Regions from separate parts of the Homo sapiens genome. Here region 1 is linked to region 2. Evidence: promoter capture Hi-C in 16 types of primary human blood cells and fetal thymus (Javierre and others, 2016). All regions are on one chromosome and are shown on one strand. Each heading gives the region's core, a stretch centred on a gene start or on the middle of the fragment in contact. The rest is flanking DNA. Distances are from core to core; before and after follow the strand shown.

Evidence for each region. The method cuts DNA at HindIII sites, captures the fragments that hold promoters and counts their contacts. A CHiCAGO score of 5 or more calls a contact.
Region 1: a contact is called between a fragment that was not itself captured here and the fragment with the promoter of LRFN4 in region 2, in 1 of 17 cell types (neutrophils). The highest score is 5.3, in neutrophils.

What each region holds. Positions count from the first base shown.
Region 1 is chr11:66,339,204-66,344,598 of GRCh38, reverse strand. It overlaps BRMS1 (BRMS1 transcriptional repressor and anoikis regulator), which reads left to right. Exons shown (of 10, transcript NM_015399.4): 2 at 2,358-2,503; 3 at 2,976-3,066; 4 at 3,266-3,393; 5 at 3,553-3,632; 6 at 3,729-3,825; 7 at 4,386-4,478. The coding sequence starts at 2,365. Among named protein-coding and RNA genes, the nearest start is that of BRMS1, 3.2 kb to the left of the region's middle. The HindIII fragment of the contact is 4,726 bases long and covers 525-5,250 here.
Region 2 is chr11:66,855,814-66,861,801 of GRCh38, reverse strand. It overlaps LRFN4 (leucine rich repeat and fibronectin type III domain containing 4), which reads right to left and starts at 4,738. Exons shown (of 2, transcript NM_024036.5): 1 at 2,709-4,738; 2 at 1,327-2,165. The coding sequence starts at 4,057. The coding sequence ends at 1,607. The region is part of intron 12 of PC (pyruvate carboxylase); the gene reads left to right. RefSeq lists silencers at 4,853-4,962, 5,123-5,652. The HindIII fragment of the contact is 17,472 bases long and covers 1-5,988 here.

The DNA of each region.
Region 1 (5,395 bases), core at 1,638-4,137, 520 kb after region 2:
GCACCCGGGGTAAGGTGGGAAGGTTGTGACTTAACTCACTCATAATCAGAACCAGGGGGAGGAAAGAAAGGCTTCTGGAAGAGATAGACTTAAGCTGCATCTTACAAAGTGAATATACTAACAGTGAAGAGGCATTGCAAATGTTGGGAACTGAGGCTTGATAACGGGAAGATGAAGCTGGTTTAGAGAACCGAGCCTTTCAAGTCAGGTGCAGGTCATTAGTGAAATTGTTGAGGAATATGACTAAACACTCACCTAGGCCAGGCTTACTATACACAACTTGAACTGGTGTCAAGGAAAGCTTGCTACCATTACAGGGACCTGGGACTACCGAAAAGTAAAAACTAATGTCTGTCTCACAAAAAATTTTTTTGTTAAATTTGTATTTGCAAATCCTCCAGTCATCAAGTGAACCAGCACTGTGCTAGGTAAATAAGTTACATGTGCAGCCCCTGCCCTAGTGAGGCTCATAGACTGATTGCGGGGACAGATATGAGAACAGGCAAATAGATATAAACAAAGCTTCCTGGAGGGAGTGGTGTCTGCACTGTTCTAAAGGACTACAAAGCAGTGTCCAGAGAAGTTGGAAGAACACAATAAAATAGAAGCCTGCAGGAGGTTGAGAGATTATCTGCTGAGAGGACTGTTTTCTTCTTCTTAGGTGATCTCTTGGCAGTACTTGGCACTATCAGTGCAATTACTCCTTGGCAGTACTTGGCTTTCTTCTAAAACTCTTTCTCCACCACTTCGGGTTTTGCCTCCTCCTTTGTAGGGGTCTCCTCATCTGCCCCTTTGGTGACCCTGGGCGTCTTCTGATCGCACACATTGTGCCTTGCTGGTTGCACCTTCTCCTGTGGCATGAAGAACTTGCTGTATGCTGACGACCAAATCCCTGCAGCTCAGATTTCTCACTGAGACTTAGACCCATGTTCCCCCAGCTGCTTTCCTTCTCTTATTTCTGGGTCTTTGCTACTGACTCTACCTGGAATGTTCCCTCAATAAGTGCAGCTCACCCAGCTGGTCCATCTTTGTCTGGAAGCCTCCCTGCTGCATCGGGCTCCAGGTCCTGGTTATATACCCCTCCCTTATGCCCCTGGTCTTAACTCTCCTCCTATCATGGTTATAGTGTGCTCCTTTGCCCCTGTCTCCCAGGAACTTGTAAACTCCGTGAGGTCAAAGACATTCACACTTGGGCGCCTGCATACCATAGCGTCTGACGGTACCTAGCATATGTTAGATGTTCAATACATGTTAGATGAGTCAGTAAAAGAAGGAATGCTTACCAGTGTTGGATGTTGCCGAGCAGACAATTAAAATAAGCACTGAAAAATATTGGCATTAGCCACAAGGAAGTCATTGGTTAATGCTACGGGATCAGTTTCAGCTGAGATTGAGGACATCGAACAAGTGGGAGGTGAAAGTAGGAACAGCCAGTGTTCATGAGACCTTGAAAAGTGTAACTGTGAAGTGGCAAATGGAGCAGTTAGGTGGAATGGGTGAGGTTTTGTGTTTCTGTGTTTTGTTAATGCTAGGAAGTACCCAAGCACATCCAAAGTTTCATGGGAAGGAGGTTGCTAAGAGTTAGAAGCTGAAGACACAGAAAAGAGAGGGGAGCACTGATGACCTGCGGTCCAAGAGGAAGCAGAAGGAGATGGGATTTGACCCAGAGCACAATGAAAGACAAGGAGATTGTAACATTATCTGGAAGAGAAGCCGAGGACATTATAGGCAGAAGGAACAGCTGAGGCAGAGGGTGGATAGTGGAAGTGCAAGCACTAGCCATTATATGTTGGGATGAAGGAGCTGGACCGGTAGGTCAAGTCCAGTCTGGGAAAGACCTTGAAAGCCCCAGTTAGAAATTTAGGTCCAGTTTGGGTGTGGTGCGGGCGCCTGTAATCTCACTACTCAGGAGGCTGAGGCAGGAGAATCGCTTGAACCCAGGAGGAGGAGGTTGCAGTGAGCTGAGATCGTGCCACTGCACTCCAGCTTGTCAACAGAGCGAGACTCTGTCTCAAAAAATAATAAGAAGAAAAGAAATTTAGGTCCAGTTGCAAAGGCAGTGGAGAGTGCCCCCTGGGCCTTTCCTTTCTGTGGATCACAGCCTTGGCCAGTATTGCTAGGATTAGGATCACCAGTGACATCCAAGAGCAGGAGCAGTTCCACAGCTCCCAGCCTTCTGTGAGAGGTGCAGATGGCCATTTGCACCCTTGTCACCCAGTTTGTGCTCAAGGTGTGGCCAGGCCAGTTACTTCCCTGGCTTTCCCCATCTGGGATCGAGTTGTGTTCAGCATCCTGCTGCCTCTTTCCCCCTCTGAGCTGTGGGCAGCCATAAGTGATAGCTCCATTCCTTCTCCCAGAGTCCAGATGCCTGTCCAGCCTCCAAGCAAAGACACAGAAGAGATGGAAGCAGAGGGTGATTCTGCTGCTGAGATGAATGGGGAGGAGGAAGAGAGTGAGGAGGAGCGGAGCGGCAGCCAGACAGAGTCAGAAGAGGAGAGCTCCGGTGAGCCCCTACACACACAGACACACACACACACACACAGAGCCCCTACACACACACATGCACACACACAGCCCCTACACACAAGCATGCACGCACATGCACATACAGCGCCTACACACAAGCACATACACAGACCCTGCACACAAGCGCACACACGCACACACAGCCCCTACACACAAGCACGCACACACAGCCCCTACACACAAGCACGTATGCACACACACAGCCCCTTCACACAAGTACACGTGCACACAGCCCCTTCACACAAGCACGCACGCATATGCACACACAGCCCCTACACACAAGCACACACGCACACACACAGCCCCTTCACACAAGCATGTACGCGCACACACACACAGGCCCTACACACAGGCATGCATGCACACACACACATGCAGGACGCACATGCACACATGCGGGTACCCACCACTCCTCCCCAGAGCTAGCCCTTACTGGCCTCTTGTCCCAGAGATGGATGATGAGGACTATGAGCGACGCCGCAGCGAGTGTGTCAGTGAGATGCTGGACCTAGAGAAGCAGTTCTCGGAGCTAAAGGAGAAGTGAGCGTGGGGACACCTTGGGCTGGGTCTGCGAGGATCTGGGATGAGGAGGTGGTGGGCCTGGTACTGGGCAGGCGTGGTTGGTGCCCAGGAAGTGCGCGCCTAACACCGGGCTTGCTGTGGAATGGGTGCTGGGTATGTGTTTGCCCAAGAGCGATGGGTGAGCAAATGGGTGCACGGCTGCCTTTTTACCACGCAGGTTGTTCAGGGAACGACTGAGTCAGCTGCGGTTGCGGCTGGAGGAAGTGGGGGCTGAGAGAGCCCCTGAATACACGGAGCCCCTTGGGGGGCTGCAGCGGAGCCTCAAGATTCGCATTCAGGTGGCAGGTCTGTGGGTGGTTCTGTACCCTCTTCCCCTCCCAGAACCCGTGGCACCCTGTCCCCTTCCTCTCTCGTTCCTGCCCGGCCTTGCCCTTTGCTCTCAGCCCTCCTATGTGGGCACCGGGCTCCCCAGCCAAGCAGGGACCCTCCTCCCTTTCTCTGCAGGGATCTACAAGGGCTTCTGTCTGGATGTGATCAGGAATAAGTACGAATGTGAGCTGCAGGGAGCCAAACAGCACCTGGAGGTGGGCCTGATTGGGCACACTGGGGGTGAGGCAGGGCACAAAGCCTGAAGTGGCCTCACCCCATCCGTCCTGCTGAGCTATTGCCCCCTCTTCCAGAGTGAGAAGCTGCTGCTCTATGACACGCTGCAGGGGGAGCTGCAGGAGCGGATCCAGAGGCTGGAGGAGGACCGCCAGAGCCTGGACCTCAGCTCTGGTAAGCGCGAGAGCCTGGGCACCCCGGAACTGGGCCCCGCTCAGTCCACGCCCACCCCTCTTTGGGCTTCAGATGTCCTGAAGTCAAGGGGACAGCCAGAGGACCTGCCTGTTGGGGTCAGTGTGAGGGCTGAAGGAGACCAGGCCTGGAAAGGGCCTGGCACATAATGGGGGCTCAAGCAGAGTGGGTCTCCCTGCCTCTTCTGCCCCTGCTCTTTCCAAAACAGGTATCAGTGTGACATGCAGTCACATGCAATAGCTCTAGTCCCCTCCATGTTCATAGTACCTGTGTTCACGTGGAGTCCTGGGGTGGCAGGAATTGTCGTCATCCCACTCTCCACTAAACAGATGAGGCTCACAGAAGTGCAGTGACCTCTTCCCAGGGTTGTGCAGCTGTGCAGGCAGGACCTGAACAGCCCTAAGGGGCTTCTACCCCAAGCCCAGGGTGGTGATGGGACAGGGGAGATGAGGCCAGGCCGGCCCATGGTGGAGGCAGAGGCTACAGAAAAGGGAGTATCCTGTGGGCCAGCACCCCAATTCTAACTCTGGGTCTCGGGGCAGAATGGTGGGATGACAAACTGCACGCCAGAGGCAGCTCCAGGTCTTGGGACTCCCTGCCGCCCAGCAAGAGGAAGAAGGCACCTCTGGTTTCTGGTATCCTTTCACCCAAGGTGGCCTAAAAGTGGGCAGGATGTAAGGGTCAACTCCAGACCCAGGGGAGGGGGTTGGAGGGGACATGGAGGACAGTCACACTAGATGCACTCGTGGTTGCTTGGTGTCATGTGAATATGTCCAGGCAAATCCAGCTGTCAGCAGTTTCTTACGGGGTCCTGGGTCTCTCTGGGCTATGTGAACCCTAGGAAAACAGAAACGGGCTGGGCTCCGTGGCTCACATCTACAGTCCCAGCACTTTGGGAGGCCAAGGCGGGTAGATTGCTCGGGCCCAGGAGTTCTTTTCGAGACCAGCTTGGGCAACATGGTGAAACCCATCTCTAGAAAAAATAACAAAAATTAGCCAGGCGTGGTGGTGTGCACCTATAGTCCCAGCTACTCTGAAGGCTGAGGTAAGAGGATTGCTTGAGCCTGAGAGATCAAGGCTGCAGTGAGCCGTGATGGTGCCACTGCACTTGAGCCTGAGTGAGGTTTGGCCTTTGAGGCCTTTCCATCTCCCGGGGTTGTCCGAGCGGGTCCCCAGCTTTCCCTGGGGAGCCTTTGCTCATATCCCACCCTCCTCTTGGAAGTCCTGCCTGTCCCGACTGTCCAGGGCTCATCTCAAACGTTACCTCCTCTGTGAGGCCTCTTCTGGTCTTACCCTGGTGCCTATGGCTTCACTTTCCTGTGTGCTTCTGTGCCCTACCATGGGGTACCCACATCCCAGAGGGCACTGGCTGCCTCCACCCCTTCCTAGGCAGGGCTAGCTTAAGCTTAGTCCAGGGCCTGCTGTGCTTTCATCTGTCCTGGCAGAGCTGAGTCCTCCTGCACCCCTGAGGGTATTCCTGCAGCAGCCAGTCTTAGTCATTATGGCAACCTGGTGCTGGAGAGCAGGCCCAGGCAGGGAGGGAGGAATCTGG
Region 2 (5,988 bases), core at 3,489-5,988:
GCAGGATAAGTGTCTCTGGTGTCTGGGGGTGCCAAGTCCTCCCCAAATGTGCACCAAGACCAGGCCGCTGGCTCTAGCCGCCTCCTGAGCCTCATGCTAGCGCCCAGCGTGGCAGCCCTGGCCCTCCTGTCCCTTTGCCGTCTGTGCCCACCCACCCTGTCCCGCGCCCCCGCCCACTCCTCCATGGCGTTCGCTCCCCACACCCTTCTCTGTCGAGGACCTTGCTCCCATTCATCTAAACCAGGCTCTCGAAGCCCACCTCTAGCTGCATGTTCTGGGGCTGGGAGGGCAGGCACACGCGTGTGAGCCAGGTCCATGCACACGTGAACACACGTATGCCTTAGAGCACCTGCCTCACCTCGGCTGCCCGGTGGCAGCGCCTTGGCCCTCACACAGAAAACACCAGGGAGTCTGTGCAGCGTGTTTGCCGTGGCCTGGGGTGCCAGGGCCGCCTTCTGAGTTTTCATACAGCACCTGGGGGAGCTTGACCCTCTGCAGGGCTGAGGGCCACGTCTGCCCATGCCCCCCAGCCAGTGCCTAGAAGCAGATAGTTCAGGAGGCTGCAGGGGCTGGGCCAGGTCGGAGGCTGCCCGGGCCTGGCCAGGGGTCCTAGCAGAGAAAGCAGGGCTCGTGCCCATCCGGCTGCCTCCCTGCAGCGAGGGAGGGCGAAGGCCGCCTTCCCAGGAAGGCCCAGAGCACATCTGAGCTGGCAGCTGCGGTCCTGCTCGGACCCACAGTTCTGACAGGAACCTTCCAGAGGATCACGGGCTGATGGCAGAGCAGTGGGGTTCCCTGCCCTTCCAGTCCCTTTGGGATGGCGTTTTACCAGTCCACAAGATGCCCTGGGAGGTGGCAGACACAGCTGTCAGCACCTGGAGCCATGAGGACTTTTCACTGTACGCTCAGCCCAGGTCCGTTCTCCCAGAGGGCTGTACCGTCCCCCACCTCCTCCTGTTGCTTAGTCCAGTCCTGTGTCCGCCCCGCAGACCCTGAAGTGCCATGGGGAAGGCGCTCACACGTGCTCCCCAGGCTTTACACTGGATACGGCGTCCTGTCGCCACCTGGCAGGAAGGGGCGTTCTTTGCACTTACAGGCGAGGGTAGGCCGCCTGCCCAAGCCCATGCTCTTGCAGGTCAGAAGACACCAGGCACAGCCCTTGGCCGCAGCCCTGGGCCGCCCCTGTGGACAGGAAGCCAGGAGGCCCCAGGCTGCTGTGACTGCCCCCACCGGCCCTGGTAGCCCCACCCTTGTCCGTGTGCCACCAGCGGCCCGTGTCCTGTCCTCCCGTCTCGGGGGACCTAGCCAGACAACACCAGAGACTAGCACTGAGGTGTCCCCAACAATTTTATTATAAATAAAAACAAGACTCCCAGTGGGTGGCTGCAGCCCCTGCCTCGGTGGCTGTGAGCACCTGTTGGAGGGGCCTGCCCTTACCCTGGTCTGGAGGCCAGAACCGAGGAAAGGGCTCCCTGCCCCTCCAAGTACACAGGGGAGCCTGAGGTACTGAGAATAAAAACCAGGGAGGGACTCCCAGGCCAGGCGGCGGCCCCGGGCCCTCTGCCCCACGAGGCTCATCCCTTGGAGCACACAGGAAGCTGCCCGTCCATCACACCACACTCTCTTCCAGCCGCTCGGCGCTGCCTCCTACCCCCCGGCACCCTGCCCCGAGCAGCCCCCCATGCACAGAGTGGCTCCGTCGGGCCCAAGCTCCTCCCAGGCGCCTGGCATAACCGTAGCACCCGGCATCTCCCAGGTCCAGAGAGCAGCTGCGCTGCGGCCGGGGCGGGGGGCTCCGCGGCGGGTGGGCCTTGGGTGTGGGGCTGGGGCCTCCATTGGTCTGGGACTGGACGTGGCTGAGCTTGAGGGGGAGGCGGCCATTTCCGGCCCCCCGGCCCCGAACCAGCAAGGCCACAGTGAAGACCAGTAAGGCAGCCACCAGCACACCCCCCACGGCCACGGTCAGGGTCCCGCCCAGCACGTGGGCCTGCAGGGCGTGGCACAGGGGCGAGGCCGGCAGCGTGGAGAAATGGGCACAGCCCAGCAGCCTGGTGGCCGTGAGGTCAGAGGGCCCAGCGGCCGGTGACAAGGCCAGCAGGCAGAGGTCATAGTCAGCGCCGGGGACGAGGTGCTTCAGCAGGAAGTGGTGGCTGGAGGCTGGGACAATCCTGCAGGCAAGGGCAGGTGGTCAGAGCCCGGGGCTGGGGTCTAGCCCCATCCTCACCTCCCCACTCCCGTGCTCCCAGCTCCAAACACCCCTCCCCCTGGGGCCACTCGGGCTCTTGGGTTCACTCAGGAAGGTGAACAGGCTGGAGAGTGTGGCCAGGAGATGGGTGTGTGCACTGGCACAGGACGCAGGCAAGCGAGGGGAATGGGGTGGGGGGATGGCACCAGCAGAGGCAGAAATAACACGCGGGCGCGGGCCATGTGCTTCAGACAGACCCAACCGCCACCTGCTGCCGGGGAGGCCTGCACAGCTCAGTGACACCTGGGACATCTCGGGGTGGGGTCCTTCTGCCGCCCCTTGAGCTCCAGCCCCCTCAGGCAGCCAGGCCAGGCCAGGCCACTGCTCCTCCAAGAGTCCAGCAGCCATGGTCGGGGAGGGGGTGTCAGCCCCAGAGAGAGGAGGGGTGGAAGCAAAGCCTTGTGGGGAGCAGAGGGCGGAGGAAGGGCGCCGGGAGTGCAGCCGGGTGTGGGGCACGCATCCTCACCGGTAGATGAGGGTCTCATCTTCGCTGCTGTTGTACTGGATTTGGAACATCCACACTGGGTCGGCTGGCCGCCCGGGACCCCAGCTCACCAGCCCTGAGGTGGCGGTCACCTCCGTCACCTGCACGGCTGGCTCAGACTCCAGCGTCCCCTCACCCTCGGCAGCAGTGCGAGCGGAGGCGGCGATGTCCGAGGGCCCGGGGCGGCCCCCCTCGGCACTGCTGTTCCCACCATGGGGCAAGGCCAGCACCCGCAGTTCTACTCGGGCTGTGGCCTCACCAGCAGGGTTGGTGGCGATGCAGGTGTAGCCCCCAGCGTCCCCAGCGCCGGTCACCCCAATCTCTAAGGTCCCGTTGGGGAAAGCCCGGGCTCGGGAGGAGTTGCCAACCAACCGGTCGTCAGGACCGACCCAGTGCATGGTAGGCGCGGGGTCACCCAGGGCCCGGCACCGCAGCGTGGCCCGCTGGCCTTCCAGCACCCAGAGGCGCTGCGTGTGGCGGGCAATGAGGGGCGGCTCACAGGAGAACTCGCCCTCGGGCACTGCCCAGAAGTAGCGGCCGGCCAGGCCGGGCGGGGAGGCGCACGTTTCCAGGTCGTCCGGCCGCGCCAGCCGCCGCAGCCACAGCAGCTCACAGTTGCAGTGCAGGGGGTTCCCGCTAAAGCTCAGCACCAGGGGGGCGGGAGAGGCCTCTGCATCACGCCCACGAGAGAAAAGCGGGTCCGGAGCCAGCGTGGCCAGGCGGTTGGAGGTGAGGTCCAGGCGGGAGAGCTGACCGAGCTGGGCGAAGGCGCCTGGGGGCAGTGCGTCAATAAGGTTATGGTCCAGGTTGAGGGTGTGCAGGGCAGGCATGGCGCCGATGCCGGCCCAGGGCACCTGCCGGAGGTTGTTGTAGGACAGGTCCAGGTCCTCCAGGCTCTCTAGGAAGTCGTCGAAGGCTCCCGGCGCGATGCGGCCCAGCTGGTTGCCGCTGAGGATGAGGTGCTGCAGATTGACGGGGCCCCGGAGGCTCCCGGTGCCCAGCTCCACCAGCCTGTTGCCGTCAAGGTGGAGGGAACGCAGGCTCTCGAGGTCCCCAAAGGCGCGGGCCCCAATGCGGGTGATGGCATTGCGAGACAGTGTCAGGTCCACCAGTCCCGTCATGTTGCGGAAGTCAGGGGGCCCCAGGGCCTGGATGAAGTTGTCAGCCAGCCGCAGCTCCACTGTGCGCCGGTCCACGTTGGGCGGCACAAACAGCAGGCCTCGGTGGGCACAGAGGGTGCTGAGCGACTCGGACAGGTTCTGGCAGACGCAGGGCAGCGGGCAGGCGGCCGCTCCACTGGCCAGCAGCAGCAGCAGGAGCGGCGGGGCCATGGTGAGCGCCCTGTAGGAAGGGGCCACAGCCCAGGCACAGGTGGGGCTGGCGCAGGTGCCCACTTGGGCCCAGGACAGTCCCAGAAGCCAGCTTCTGTGAGCCTGGCCCGGGGAGGGGCTGGGTCAGAGGCCCAAGAGGGCCGCCAGAGATGAGGGAAGGTTGGGGCCTGCAGGGCCAGGCCCCCCAGAGCAAAGGTCACATTTCCCAAGCAGTTAAGGGGGAGTCCAGGCGCTGGGGACAAGGTGAGGCATGAGGCAGGAAGCGGAGGAGGACCGAGAGCAGGGAGGGTCCCGGAACTTCCTTTCCCAGGCGTCCCCAGGAATCGCCAGCCGCCTCCCCACTCCCCGCCATACCCTCCCCCGCCAGAGAAGGCGCCCCCCGAACCTCCCGTGGAGTCCGTGGCCCCTCCCTGGCCGGCCCCCGCGCTGCGCCCGGCGGCCCCCTCACCTGGTGTCCGTCGCTCAGGGGGCGCGGGCCGGCCTCCCTGCGAGCCCGGCCGGCCCCCGCCGACTCCTGGCCGCTCTCCCGCGGGGACGAGGCCCGGGGATGACCGGCCGCCCGCCGCCCACCCTCGGGCCCATGGCGCTCGGGCCCGCGGCCCCGGCTCGCTCGGTTCCCGGCACCTTTTCCCGGCGCGGTTAGCGGTGGCGGCGGCGACAGGCGAGCGGGTGCGCGCCGGCGGGCGCGCGCGCCGCGGACACGCACGTGGAGGGCGGACGGGGAGGGGCGCGCGGGGATCCACCCGGGCCCGGGCCGGCTCCTGAGGTCACGGGGACACGCGGCCGCTGCAGCGCCCACGGGTGGCGCCCAGTCACGCCCGAGGCCCGGGCCGGCGCGGGCCCTCCGCGCTGTCCCCCGGCGCTGCCGCAGCGCACTCACCCTGGCACAGGCGCGCGCGCCCCCGGCCATCCTGGCGCCCCGGCATCCTGCACCGCACGGGCGCCCGCCGCCGCGGCGCGAACCTCACTCTGCAGACAGCCAGACAAAGCGCCTGCTCGCGGGCCCCTTCACCATCTCCCGGAGACGGGCGTCTTTGTCACATGTCGCTGGGCACCCTCCCCAACACACCCACACATGCCCACACACCCACACGTCCCTGCACCCACGGGCAGGGCCGAGCGCAAACCCGCACTGTTGCTGGGACCCTTGCGTTCACAGACACACGCTGAAGGTCATAACCGTTCTGCATCACCGAGTCACGTGGAGGGTCCCCAACCGGCACGGGGTTCGGCCGTGGGGGGGGCTGGGGCGGCGCCCCTGGCAGGGCTGCTGCGGGGTGGGGCCGAGAGGGCTTGGCCTCCGGGCAGGCGCCCCGCCCCCGCCGCCCCGCCCTGTCCCCAGCTGCCTCTCGCCTCTCCCTCCCTCCCCAGCTGCCCCGCCCGCCCCGCGGGCCAGGCGTTCCGGAGCCAACCGGCCTCCGCCTCGGGCCGGATTGGTCTGCGCGGCGCGGCTTCCCAACCGCCGGGGGCACGCATTGGGAAGCTGTGCGTCCTCGCAGCGCCTGCGGCCCCTCCCTCCCGCTCTGTCGCCGCCGGGCCATTTCCCTGGAAGAGCGGCTCGGAACCAGCTCCTCTCAGAGAAAGGGCTCCCGGCGTGAGGTGGGGGAGGTTCTTTGCTTCCTGGTTGAGAAAGCTGGGGCTTCGGTGGCTCGGCGAGCCTGGTTTCCTTCCAGCTGTGCCCGCCACCACCAGTGGTCTGCCCAGTTGGGAAACAGGAAGTCACCACCTCCCCGTGTCTCCTGGTCCTTAAGCCACCTAAACCTCAGCCATCCTCGTTCTCCCTCCAGCCCTGATCCCCATGGGCCAGGTGGCAGGAAACTCGGGGAAACCCAAGATTGGAATTCTGATCCTGTCAGCACAGCAGTGTAGTCCTGGGCACGTTACCTGACCACTGAAAACAAGTTCCTCCTGTAGGCCAGGAGAGTTGGATG